2 separate regions of the Homo sapiens genome follow, and region 2 is linked to region 1. The links are contacts of gene promoters, found by promoter capture Hi-C in human tissues and cell types (Jung and others, 2019). All regions are on one chromosome and are shown on one strand. The core of a region is centred on a gene start or on the middle of the fragment in contact, and the rest is flanking DNA. Distances in the headings are between cores, read along the strand shown. Region 1 holds the start of FABP3 (fatty acid binding protein 3). Region 2 overlaps PUM1 (pumilio RNA binding family member 1).

What was found. Contacts are between HindIII fragments. The study calls those that stand out against the background at their distance.
Region 2: a contact is called between a fragment that was not itself captured here and the fragment with the promoter of FABP3 in region 1, in 1 of the 25 tissues and cell types used here (mesendoderm cells).

Annotation. Positions count from the first base shown.
Region 1 is chr1:31,370,609-31,376,400 of GRCh38, reverse strand. It overlaps FABP3 (fatty acid binding protein 3), which reads left to right and starts at 3,325. Exons shown (of 4, transcript NM_004102.5): 1 at 3,325-3,459. The coding sequence starts at 3,387. LOC124903892 (a long non-coding RNA gene) reads right to left here and starts at 2,102. Exons shown (of 2, transcript XR_007065573.1): 1 at 2,014-2,102. RefSeq lists a silencer at 2,845-3,139. The HindIII fragment of the contact is 11,361 bases long and covers 1-5,792 here.
Region 2 is chr1:31,010,837-31,016,628 of GRCh38, reverse strand. The region is part of intron 3 of PUM1 (pumilio RNA binding family member 1); the gene reads left to right. Among named protein-coding and RNA genes, the nearest start is that of SNORD103C, 45 kb to the right of the region's middle. The HindIII fragment of the contact is 4,000 bases long and covers 962-4,961 here.

The DNA.
Region 1 (5,792 bases), core at 2,076-4,575:
AAATAATAAAACTGAGGATTAAAGAAGCAAAGCAATCTGCCTCAGGTAACTAACTCAGTAGGTAGTGGCAGAGCTCAGACTAGGTCTTAGGTGTCTGCACTATCCCTGGAGACAATAACAATAGCAGCAGGAGGAGCAGCAGCAGTGAACTTTCGTAAGTCAACCATGCTTAGCATTTAAATGTATTATCTCGGGCCAGGTGTCGTGGCTCACACCTGTAGTCTCAGCACTTTGGAAGCCGAGGCAAGCAGATTGCTTGAGGCCAGGAGTCCAACACCAGCCTGGGCAACACGGCAAAACCCTGTCTCTACCAAAAAAATGCACAAAAAATTAGCCAGGCGTGGTGCCATGCGCCTGTAGTCCTAACTACTCAGGAGGCTGAGGTGGGAGGATCCCTTGAGTCTGGGAGGTCAAGAATGCCATGAGCTGAGATCATGCCACTGCACTCCAGCCTGAGTGACAGAGTGAGACTCTCTCCAAATAAATAAATAGGCCAGGCGTGGTGGCTCATGCCTGTAATCCCAGCACTTTGGGAGGCCAAGGCAGGCGGATCACTTGAGGTCAGGAGTTCAAGGCCAGCCTGGCCAATATGGTGAAACCCCGTCTCTACTAAAAATATAAAAATTAGCCTGGCGCGGTGGCCCGCGCCTATAGTCCCAGCTACTTGGGAGGCTGAGGCAGGAGAATCACTTGAACCTGGGAGGCTGAGGCAGGAGAATCACTTGAACCTGGGAGGCAGAGGTTGCAGTGAGCTGAGATAACACCATTGCACTCCAGCCTGGGTGACAGAGTGCAAGACTCCATCTCCAAAAAAAAATCCCTTCATTTTAAAGATGAAACTGAAGCTGGCGTGGTGGCTCATGCCTGTAATCCCAGAACTTTAGGAGGTCCAGGTGGGCAGATCACCTGAGGTCAGGAGTTTAAGACCAGCCTGGCCAACATGGCGAAACCCCGTCTCTACTAAAAATACAAAAATTATCCAGATGTGGTGGCAGTTGCCTGTAATCCCAGCTACTTGGGAGGCTGAGGCAGGAGAATTGCTTGAACCCAGGAGGTGGAGGTTGCAGTGAGCCAAGATCACACCACTGCACTTCAGCCTGGGCAACGAGACTCCTTCTCAAAAAAAAAAAAAAAAAAATGGAGACTCAGAATGGCTTAAGTGAATTGCCCAAGGCCACACAGCTAGTACCCAACAAAATTCAGATCAGAACGCAGATCTGCCAGCAGCCATTAGCCCAGCCCCAGCTCTCCATCATTGCATTACAAGGGCCACATAAGGAGTCAGTTCTAGTTCCTGGCCACACAGTCCTTGAGAGGAGGCCCTATGTGTGAGGGCTGCGACCTTGAGTCAGAAATCATCTTTTCCCCCTCCTCCTCTCCTGGCACCTGTTCCAACAGTGAGATCACCAAGGCTCCATGCCCAGCCCTGAAGCCTGTCCCTATAGCTTTGGCAGAAATGAGCCTCTGAGTCTTCTGGCAACTGGACCGTCCAAAGGAATCAAGATCTTAGGGTGGGGAGAGGGCTCTTCCTCCCTGGCCTTGTTCTCAGAACAGTCCAGGGAAGGGAGGCAGGGTTTGCACATGGAGAAACAGAGTCCCAGGAAGGAGGGCCTGCCATACTCTACGCACGTGGCAGGCCTCTGGGCTCCTGTGTTGGCTCCTGCAGGCCCACCCTGGACAGGCTGCTGCTGGCTGAAATTCAGTTCGGCACTACTCCTTGGTGTGCAGGGCCTCCTGCCATCCCTCAGAAATTCATTTATACCTCACTTCCTTTGAGAAGTCTACATTGGGCCCTCAGGTCAGGACAGGACAGGACTCCCTTTAGAGGCACCACGCTAGTTTTATGTCTGGCTGCCCAGAGGTGAATGTGTGTCTTGTTCCCTGTTGTCTCTCTCCAAAGCAGGGCCTGGCACAAAGTAGGTGCTTTATTAACTGCTGAATTAATGAGTGAGCTCCTCAGAGCTTCAACTTGTTCACCTTTTTAAAAAGAGAAAATAATACAGTAACACCTACTTCATGGATTTTGCTTTAAAAGTCCAATGAGGCCAGGTGTGGTGGCGTGTGCCTATAGTCCCAGCTGCTGGGGAGGCTAAGGTAGGAGGATCCCCTGAGCCCCGGAGTTTGAGGCTGCAGTGAGCTATGATGGCGTCACAGTACTCCAGCCTGGGAGACACAGCGAGAGACTTTGTCTCTAAAAAATAATAATAAAATAAAAAGTTCAATGAAACAATACACCCAAAGCCCTCAGCATGCAATAAATAGCAAGACAAGGCAGGTCTTATTTTTACTGAAAGTGCTTAGTAAACTATACAGTGACAAACCACCGCACAACAGGCTCTCGAAAGGAGGCAGCAAATTACCCAAAAGTGCAGGCGGCTTGCTAGTGTGCACAGGCCAAAGAAAGGGCGGCAGGTGGGGAAGGCAGCCATGGGCCTTGAAGAGCTGACCGAATTGGCAGAATTTCTGCAGGAGGGGAGCTGGGAACGACCTGAGCTAAAGCTCGGAGCTGTGCGAAGAAACCGGAAAAGCCCAGAGCACTTGCAGGGGCGGGTGGGGAGCTAGATGGTGGGGTGGGGTGGGGACGGAGGAGGGCCAGCAGGAGACATTCCGCAGGGAGGGGCAAGCACGTGTGAGGCGGGCGGGGCGCGAAGGGTCAGGCTTTTGCTCAAAACAGGCAGAGGACAAGGTCAGCTCAGCCGCAGACCGAGCCGCTGGTGACTGTCTCCGCCACCAGGCAGTGAGAGTGAAGGGAGAGCGCGAGCTCTGAAGCCCGCTAGACTAAGCTTGCAATCTGAGCTCCATTCACCCCCTCCTATTTCTTGAGACCTTGTCAGTTCCCCTGTGAGCCTCGGACTCCTCACTTGTAAAACGAGGACAGATGCCCGTGCCAGAAGTCAACCAGAGCTTTCCCCGGCGTGGGCACCAGCCCAAGGGCGTTTTGCTTTTCTAGTCTCATCTCTGCTCTGACGCTAAGCTCAAAGAGGGACTGGGGGACGGGAAGATATCCACCATGGCATGCGCCCTAGCTCTCGGGCTGGTGTTGGCTGCTTCCTTCTCAGATTCCAGAGTGCCTAGAGGCCAGGAAAGGGAGAAGGTCCTACCAGCCTGGGGTAGGGACTCGGGGGCCAGGCACTGGCGCTGACGCAGGCTAGCAGGGCGCCACTGGCTGGTCCCCACCCACCTCGGTGGGTTGGGGGATGGGCGCACCAGCCCCTCCTGGGTGAGCCCTAGCCTGGGGCTTCCTATTTCGGGAGCCGGGGGCGTGGGCCACGTCTCCTCATGTGATGCGAGGGCTATTTAAAGCGGCAGCCCGGGCAGGGAGCCGCCGTCGGAGCCCTTGCACGCCTGCTCTCTTGTAGCTTCTCTCAGCCTAGCCCAGCATCACTATGGTGGACGCTTTCCTGGGCACCTGGAAGCTAGTGGACAGCAAGAATTTCGATGACTACATGAAGTCACTCGGTGAGCAAGCCGCGGGGCTCAGGATGTTGGCTTGGGGACTGGCTGGTGGCGTGCCTAGCCCCACGCAGCACTCCTGCCGCATCCCTCCTGGTTAAGACTGGGGAATAGGGGAGCGCGGAGATGGCAGCCTGGCCTAGAGCAGGTGGGGCCTGTTCAGAGGGGGCTTTGGTGGTCCAAATCTGGTTAGAGACCACGGTAGGGAGGTGGTGGAAGGAGGCAGCTGTGTGGGAGGCTCTTTCCAGGAAGAGGGATATGTGATTTGGAGGTAGGAGGAGGGTTTGGATAAAGAACACTGATCACAGGAAAGGGAGTGTAGCCAGGGGAGAAAAAGAACAGGGGCATGGGTAGTTTAGAAATTGGAGGAGACTGAACCCAGAAAGGGAATGGGGCAGCCAGGGAGTGTACAATGATGTAAACAAGTAGGAAATACCTAGGAGGAAAAAGATTAGTGGGGAAAAAACTGTGGATCAGTGAATCAGATATGAGAAGGACGTAAGACAGGAACCTGCAGTAAGCAGCAATCCCCATCTCTGCTTGGTTAGGGAAGAGAATTCTTGCTGGAGAATGCCCTTTCTCACCAGCCAGTCTGACCTTGTCCTGCAGTCTATGTATCCAGGCCTTCATCACTGTCTGTGAGCCTCGTGGTAGGGTGGGGCAAGAGGCCCATGATCAGCTGGGCCTTTCCTGCAACCCAAGGCTCACCTATCTGTGCGAGGGGTAGGCAGAGAAAGCCATTGGACTTCTGATGTGCAGTAGAGGGTCCCAAGGCAAGGTCAAGACCTGGGAGGGAGGATCACTGGTTTAGGAGGATGTGGAGAACTGCTGTGGTGTTGGGATGGAGAAGAATCAGGATTCAAAGAATCTCACAGGTGAGGAACTTGGAGATTCCCATACCATCTAGTTCAACAGGGAAACTGAAACCAGGAGAGTAGAAATGTATTATAACAATTCCACAGCAGAGCCAATATGAAAATCTAAGGTTTCTAGATCTGTAACCCAGAGCTCTTCCCACTACCCTACAGGCCCTGCGAGTGGGAAGAAAAGTAGAAACTGCTTAGCTAATGATTGACCTCAGCCCTTCTTCTACTGCTTTGGGCTTAGATGGAGAGGTCAAAGCTCTCAACGGCCTCTACCCTATCTTGGGCGCTATGCCCAGTAATTCTAGGCAGGCAGTCATTCTTAGAGGAGCAGCCCCCAGCCCCCACGAACACAGCCCAGCAGCTATTGGGAAGTTGGAATGCCCAGATTTAGTTCCTCCTTCCAAAGCTGGGCCAGAGCTGAGTCTTGAATTGAGCTGCAACAACTTTACCATTCTTGTTCCCTTATTCTGCCCCGAGTTGGGTCAGCGGGCTGGTCTCCCTGAAGTCCTGTTATCTTTCAGCAGCTTATGTTAAGGCAGCCAGCATTCTCATCGTAGGAATGGAAAGCCTGGGAAAATACCCTCCTCAGCTCTCAGTAAGTAGTGCTGGCTTCATTTCTAAGTAGAACCCAGATCTCCCTGAGTCTCCTAAATTCTGTCAGCTCAATATTCTTAGTTTCTCTTGGTTCAGACCCTCACTCATCCCGCAGTGGTTTCCTTTTCAAACACTCCATACCTCTGGGTAGATCCTAAGTGAACAGAGCTCCCAGTGCCGTGACAAGGTCCTGCTCTGTGCAAGGGAGTGTGATTGGCCTGACTCATCCTGATACCAAGGGGCAATGCCAAGTTCCTCACTGGCCAAGCAAGGGTGGGCTGACAGCATAACAGCAGAGGCAGCCCCTGCCCCTCCTGCTGTAGACCTAGGGCTCTCAAGGGGCAAAGAGGTCCCGTCTAGTACCAGTGACCACAGGCACAACTGCTGGCCTGGATTGAGTATGTGCTGGACAGAATCGCCCAGTGAAAATAGTCAACAGTTTTGGAGCCGAGGTTCAAATCTATGTCAGTAGTTTATTCTCTTTGAATTTCGACAAGACACTTCGCACTCTTCATTGTAAACTGGGGATAATCTACGCTTCGAGGCTGTTACAAGCATTAAGTAAAACAACCCATGTAGGGCATGTGCAGAGTACCTAGCTTCCAGCAAGCACTATGTAGCCAGGTACATTTGGAGACTTTACACACACCACCTCACTACACTGGGCTGCCTCCTGCCTCACCTTTGCCTTGGAAGACAGTTCAATGTTAAGCTGCTGGGGGGAGAGGGGGCAGTCATGATTAGTTCTTTGTTCTTTACTTGGTTGCAGGACACTTAGGACTTTGCCCAGTACCCAAGGAAGCCATGCTTGGGTCAGGAAGAGAGTCTCTGTAAAGCCTTAGACTGGGAGTCAGGAGACGGGTTTGAGTCTAACTCATT
Region 2 (5,792 bases), core at 1,712-4,211, 360 kb after region 1:
TTTTTTTGGTGATTTGAATTAAATTAATGAGAACACAAATTTTAACATTTAACATCTTTACATGTAAGTATTGAGTAACTGATTAAAGTGGATGCACTTCACTCTGCTTATATGTAGATTATTTTTAATACCATGAATATATACATATATATAAATGCAAAACGAGAATTTGGAAGATCTTATTCCTTCACTGAAAGAGAAGGTGAAAACTTAAAAATTCTTTGCTTTATATACTTATTTTTAATTAAAAAAACTGGCTTGTGATGGAACACTCAACATTTTTAACATTCCTTATTTAAGCAACAATTTTCAAAATGAGTTGGAAGTTTATTACAGGTTGGGTATCTCTTACCCAGAATACTTGGGGCCAGAAATGTTTTGGAATTTTTTGATGTTTGGAATATTTGCATAATAATTACTAGCTGAACAGCCCAATCTGGAAACGTGAAATCTGAAATGATCCAGTGAGCATTTCCTTTGACTGTCACATTGGCAATCAAAAAGTTTTGGATTTTAGAGCATTTCAAATTTTGCATTTTTTTGGATTAAGGATGCTAAGCCTGTATCAGCTTGCTTAAAAATATTTGAAATTTAGGACATGAGCTCTCTTCTTAAAATTGCTATTAACTTTTGCCCTTTTGAAATTGTATTGAAGTGGCCAGGCGCAGTGGCTTATGCCTGTAATCCCAGCACGTTGGGAGGCCGAGGCGGGTGGATCACCTGAGGTCAGGAGTTCAAGACCAGCCTGACCAACATGGAGAAACCCCATCTCTACTAAAAATACAAAATTAGCCAGGTATGGTGGCGCATGCCTGTAATCCCAGCTACTCCGGAGGCTGAGGCAGGAGAAATGCTTGAACCCAGGAGGCGGAGGTTGCGGTGAGCTGAGATCGCATCATTGCACTCCAGCCTGGGCAACAATAGAGAAACTCCATCTCAAAAAAAAAAAAAAGAAAAAAAAAGAAAAATAAATAAATTACATTGAAGTGGCTGGGCGTGATGGCTCACGTCTGTAATCCCAGCACTTTGGGAGGCCGAGGTGGGCAGATCACGAGATCAGGAGATCAAGACCATCCTGAGTAACATGGTGAAACCCCGTCTCTACTAAAAATATAAAAAATTAGTCAGGCGTGGTGGCAGGTGCCTGTATTCCCAGCTACTCGGGAAGCTGAGGCAGGAGAATGGCGTGAACCCAGGAGGTGGAGCTTGCAGTGAGCCGAGATCATGCCACTGCACTCCAGCCTGGGCAACAGAGCGAGACTCCGTCTCAAAAAAAAAAAAGAAAAAGAAAATGAAATTATGTTGAAGTGAAATGTATCTGCTTGAGAGATATGCCTTATTTATTTGCAGTGAATTTCAGACCACCATAATCTCAGTTTTATTTATTAGAGAATTAGTTGAAAATCATAACAAAAGTATATTTTGAATTAAGTAATCCACAATCCCAGTGCACTAACAAACACTCTTCTGCTTTTATTTTTCTTTCCAGTCTTGATCCAAAAGGGAAGAATGCATGAGGAGAAGCAGTCTTTACATGTACAATTTTGTATTTTACTTTTAAAATTTAATGTTATTTTATAAATATTACATGTAGTCATTATGGCTATTTTTGGTGAGCTTACATTGTTGTACTACAACTTGTTTGCTTGCTTATTTATTTATTTAAAGAGACAGGGTCTCACTATGTTGCACAGGCTAGTCTTGAATTCCTGGCCTCAAGTGATCCTTCTGCCTACCAATATGCTGGGATTATAGGTGTGGGCCACTGCACCAGGCCCACAGCTAATTTATTGTTGAATACTTAGTTTGCAGTTTGCTTTCAACTTTTTTTTTTTTTTCTGAGACACAGTCTTGCTCTGTCGCCCAGGCTGGAGTGCAGTGGTGCGATCTTGGCTCACTGTAACCTCCGCCTCCTGGGTTCAAGTGATTCTGCTACCTCAGCCTCCCGAGTAGCTGGGATTATAGGCGCCTGGCCACTACGCCTGGCTGATTTTTGTATTTTTAGTAGAGACAGGTTTTCACCATGTTGTCCAGGCTGGTCTTGAACTCCTGACCGCAAGCAATCCGCCCGCCTCAGCCTCCCAAAGTGCTGAGATTACAGGCCTACTTTCAACTTTTTTAATTCTTTTTTTTTTAATTTTAATGTTTAAAAATAGAGATTGGGTCTTGGCATGTTGCTCAGGCTGGTCTTGAACTCCTCAAGTGACCCTCCCACCTCAGCCTCCTAAAGTGCTGGGGTTACAAGCATGAGCCACTGCATCCAGCCTCGACTTTTTTTTATTTTTACAAGCACTTTGAATGTAGATTTTTTTTTTTTTTTTTTTTTTGGAGACTGGATCTTGCTCTGTTGCCCAGGCTAGAGTGCAGTGGCACAATCATGGCTCACTGCAGCCTTGACCTCCTGGGCTCAGGTGATCCTCCCACCTAGGTCAGCCTCCTGAATAGCTAGGACCACAGGCATGTGCTACCACACTTGGCTTTTTTAAGTTTTTGTAGAGATGGGCTGTCACATGTTTTCCAGGCTGGTCTTTAACTCCTAGACTCAAGCTATCCTCCTGCCTCACCTCCCAAAGTGCTGGGATTGCAGGAATCAGCCATCATACCTGGCTGTGACTTTTGATACGTATGTAGTTTCTGAGGCCCTTCCAAAAGAATTACGCTAACCAGGAATGAATGAACTTGGCTTTTCTTAAAGATATGTTTTAATAAGTTAAAGCTTTAAATAAAGCTTTAGTATAACTTAATATCAGTATAGTTCTTAGTATTTATAAAAGCACTTCATATACTATCTCACTTGATTTCACAACAACAGTCTGTGGTATGGAGAGACTACATAAGTTGTGAAAAATACAAAATTTTTACAAGTAAGACTACCACCTGTGATTATCAGTGGTTACCAATCAAACTTCCTCATTTCAGTTAGTTCTGAAAGGTCCTTTCTCTGAGTTGATGTCATCTTCTCTTAATGTACTGAGAGTGTGGTGAGATATATACTAAGAGATTAATAATTGTTTTGGTTGTTGGTCTGTCTTACCAGCTAGTTAAATATCAAGCATTTGTTTCCTGCATTGGCTGCATTCCAGTGAAACTAAGCTTGTGTTGTAAGTTAGAGATGCTAGATAATAACATGATCAAACTGATCACGTCTGCAGGGTTGTAACATCCATGTTAGTAGTATTTCTTAAGATGCTCAATTTCTGCTCTGAGAGATGCTCTGTGCAGCCTGTATTGAGTGTGTAAGCAGTTACCTAATATTTTATTCCTTTTGAGTACAGAGTAGTTGCTGGAGAGCCCTTTTACTGTTGAGATCATCAGTAAACCTCATTGATAAATCCCTATTCAAATATTAGTGGCGGTATGGTCAAACAAGTCCAGGCAATAATTGTCTTGCCTCTGCAGTTCCTGAAAAGCCGTAATCATGGTTCTTGTAGTGTTGTTTTGTTGGGGTAGTTAATGTAATGAGGTTTGTACTGACATGGCCTAGGTGATGCCATGATCACTGTGTCTGATAGTTTGACATAGGAGCATTTCATTGACAAATCATTAGTATTGTGATGTCTATTGGCTGCTACTTTGCTCTTTTAAAGAAGGATAGTAGCTGATTTTTTGTTTACTGTTTCAGCATTGTATTATGTCATTACATGTGTTATCTCTTTCATTGTACACAATAGGTCATTTTATAGGTGAGAAAAAGCAGAAGAGGATAAAATTCACACAGCTGGGATTTAAAACTAGTTTAAAATAAAGTGATTTCAGAGCATTCATGGGTCTTTATCACTGTTCTTAAAATAAGAAGCTTAGAGTTTCTTGATATTCTCCACTTTTTATTGTCTTAATCCATGTTTTAAGGGTTCTTGGTGTAGGGGTTTATGACATGATTGATTGTTAAGTGTTAAGTGTGGTTTTGCGTATTGTTCTTTTTTGTTAGATGGAAAGGAAAAAAGGTGTTTCCAGACAAATTTAAAAGAAGTGTCTCAAGTGGCTGACATTGCTTGTAAACCAGTGCTTGACTTCTATTTTGTTTTCCAGAAGCCTCATAGATAAGCTTACTGAATTTTTTTTTTTTTTTTTTTTTTACTTTTCATAAGTTTTTTTATTTTATAAACTTACGATTCAGGGTGGGATAAACAGTGTACGTGTGTGTGTTTCTCCCAGAGATTTGAGAGCACACACTATTGGTGGGGCAGTTAGGAATTCCACTTAATGTTTCATTACAAGAAAGAGTACAAGGTCTATTTATTTTATTGCTGGGGATGATAGGACTCCCCAAGTCATGGTTCTCAGTTTGTAGATCTTGAAATGGACTGTTATTACTAATTCAGATGACTGGGTTGCGATATTGACCCCACACTAACCAGAACAACAAGAGGCTAATGTATGAAAACCAAAATGCAGTCTGCTGATTTTTTTTTTTTAAGGAAAAAAAACAACTCTTAGATGGACAAGGATGGTTGTGTTTGGTGATTGGCATGGTTGGCTATAGGAGGAAGCCAGTTCTTTAAGAAGGTGGCTTGGTAAGCAGAGTTGGAGCCAGGGAGATTACTTGGGTGTTTTTAGTGTCCAGTGTAATTAAGCTACTATCTAACCAGATGCATTAATTGCTTTGATAAGAATAGGCTTCTTTGTGCATCATATGCCCTGCCCTTAAATGTGTCACCTGGATAATACTGGCTACATCTGATTCCTTGGGTCTCTTTTGCTTTTGTTGGACCAATTCCTAATTCCTGTTATCTTCTTTTGGAATTGTCACATCATTTAATCCTCTTACTGCTAAGTTATTCTTTAAAACAAACTCTACATCTCTCTTGTGATCTGTTACTTTTCGCCTTGTCAAAAAAACTAGTCTTTATTTCCAGATTCTTGATGGGGTGGATAGGAACTATCTTTTCATAGGTTGGATGCATTTACATTTTTGGTTATTGTGTGTTAAGTGAAGATTTGGCAACTGCTGGTATTTATGCCAGTGGGTTGGCAAACTAGGATATTTTACCCAACGCTGTGGATGATGTTACCTCCAGAGAGCTTACTGTTGAATTTGAAATTGTACTTGGATAACACATTATCATTTGGTTTTATAATTCAGTAGTTTCTAACTCCTTTTAATATGATCAGATTTGAACAGTTAGGTATCTTTTAGCTGACTGTTGAATATAAGTGATTGCTACTAATTCTCAGTAAGCTCAACATGTCTAAATTGATTTGATTTTGCCGAGTTAAAAAAGCCAGTCTTTTACTTTTTTTCAATTGAAAAGGATTTTAGTTTCATCACTTACATTTAAATATTAGAAATGGAACAAGAAGTGTTTCTTGAAAACAGACTCCTAAAGAAGTGTTTCAAATATACAAAAATACTTCCACATATTCACAACAGTGTTATTGCTGCTTAACAAATCACCCTAAAATTTAGTGGCTTAAAACAGCACAGTGTGTGTGTGTGTGTGTGTGTGTGTGTGTGTGTGTGTGTATTTTAAGAGATAGGGTCTCACTCTGTTGCCCAGGCAGGAGTGCAGTAGTGTAATCGTAGCTCACTGCAGCTTCAAACCTCTGGGCTCAAGGAGTCTTCCCACCTCAGCCTCCTGAGTAGCTGGGACTGCAGGGGTGTGCCACCACTCCGGACTGATTTTTAAAAAGTCTTTTGTAAAGCTAGAGTCTCGCTATGTTGGTTGCTAAGTCTGATCTTAGACTCCTGGCCTCACCCTTAGAAAGCACTGGGATTACAGGTGTAAGCCACCACGCCCTGCCTAAAACAAGACAGTTGTTTAAGCCTCATAGTTGCTATAGGTTAGGAACCT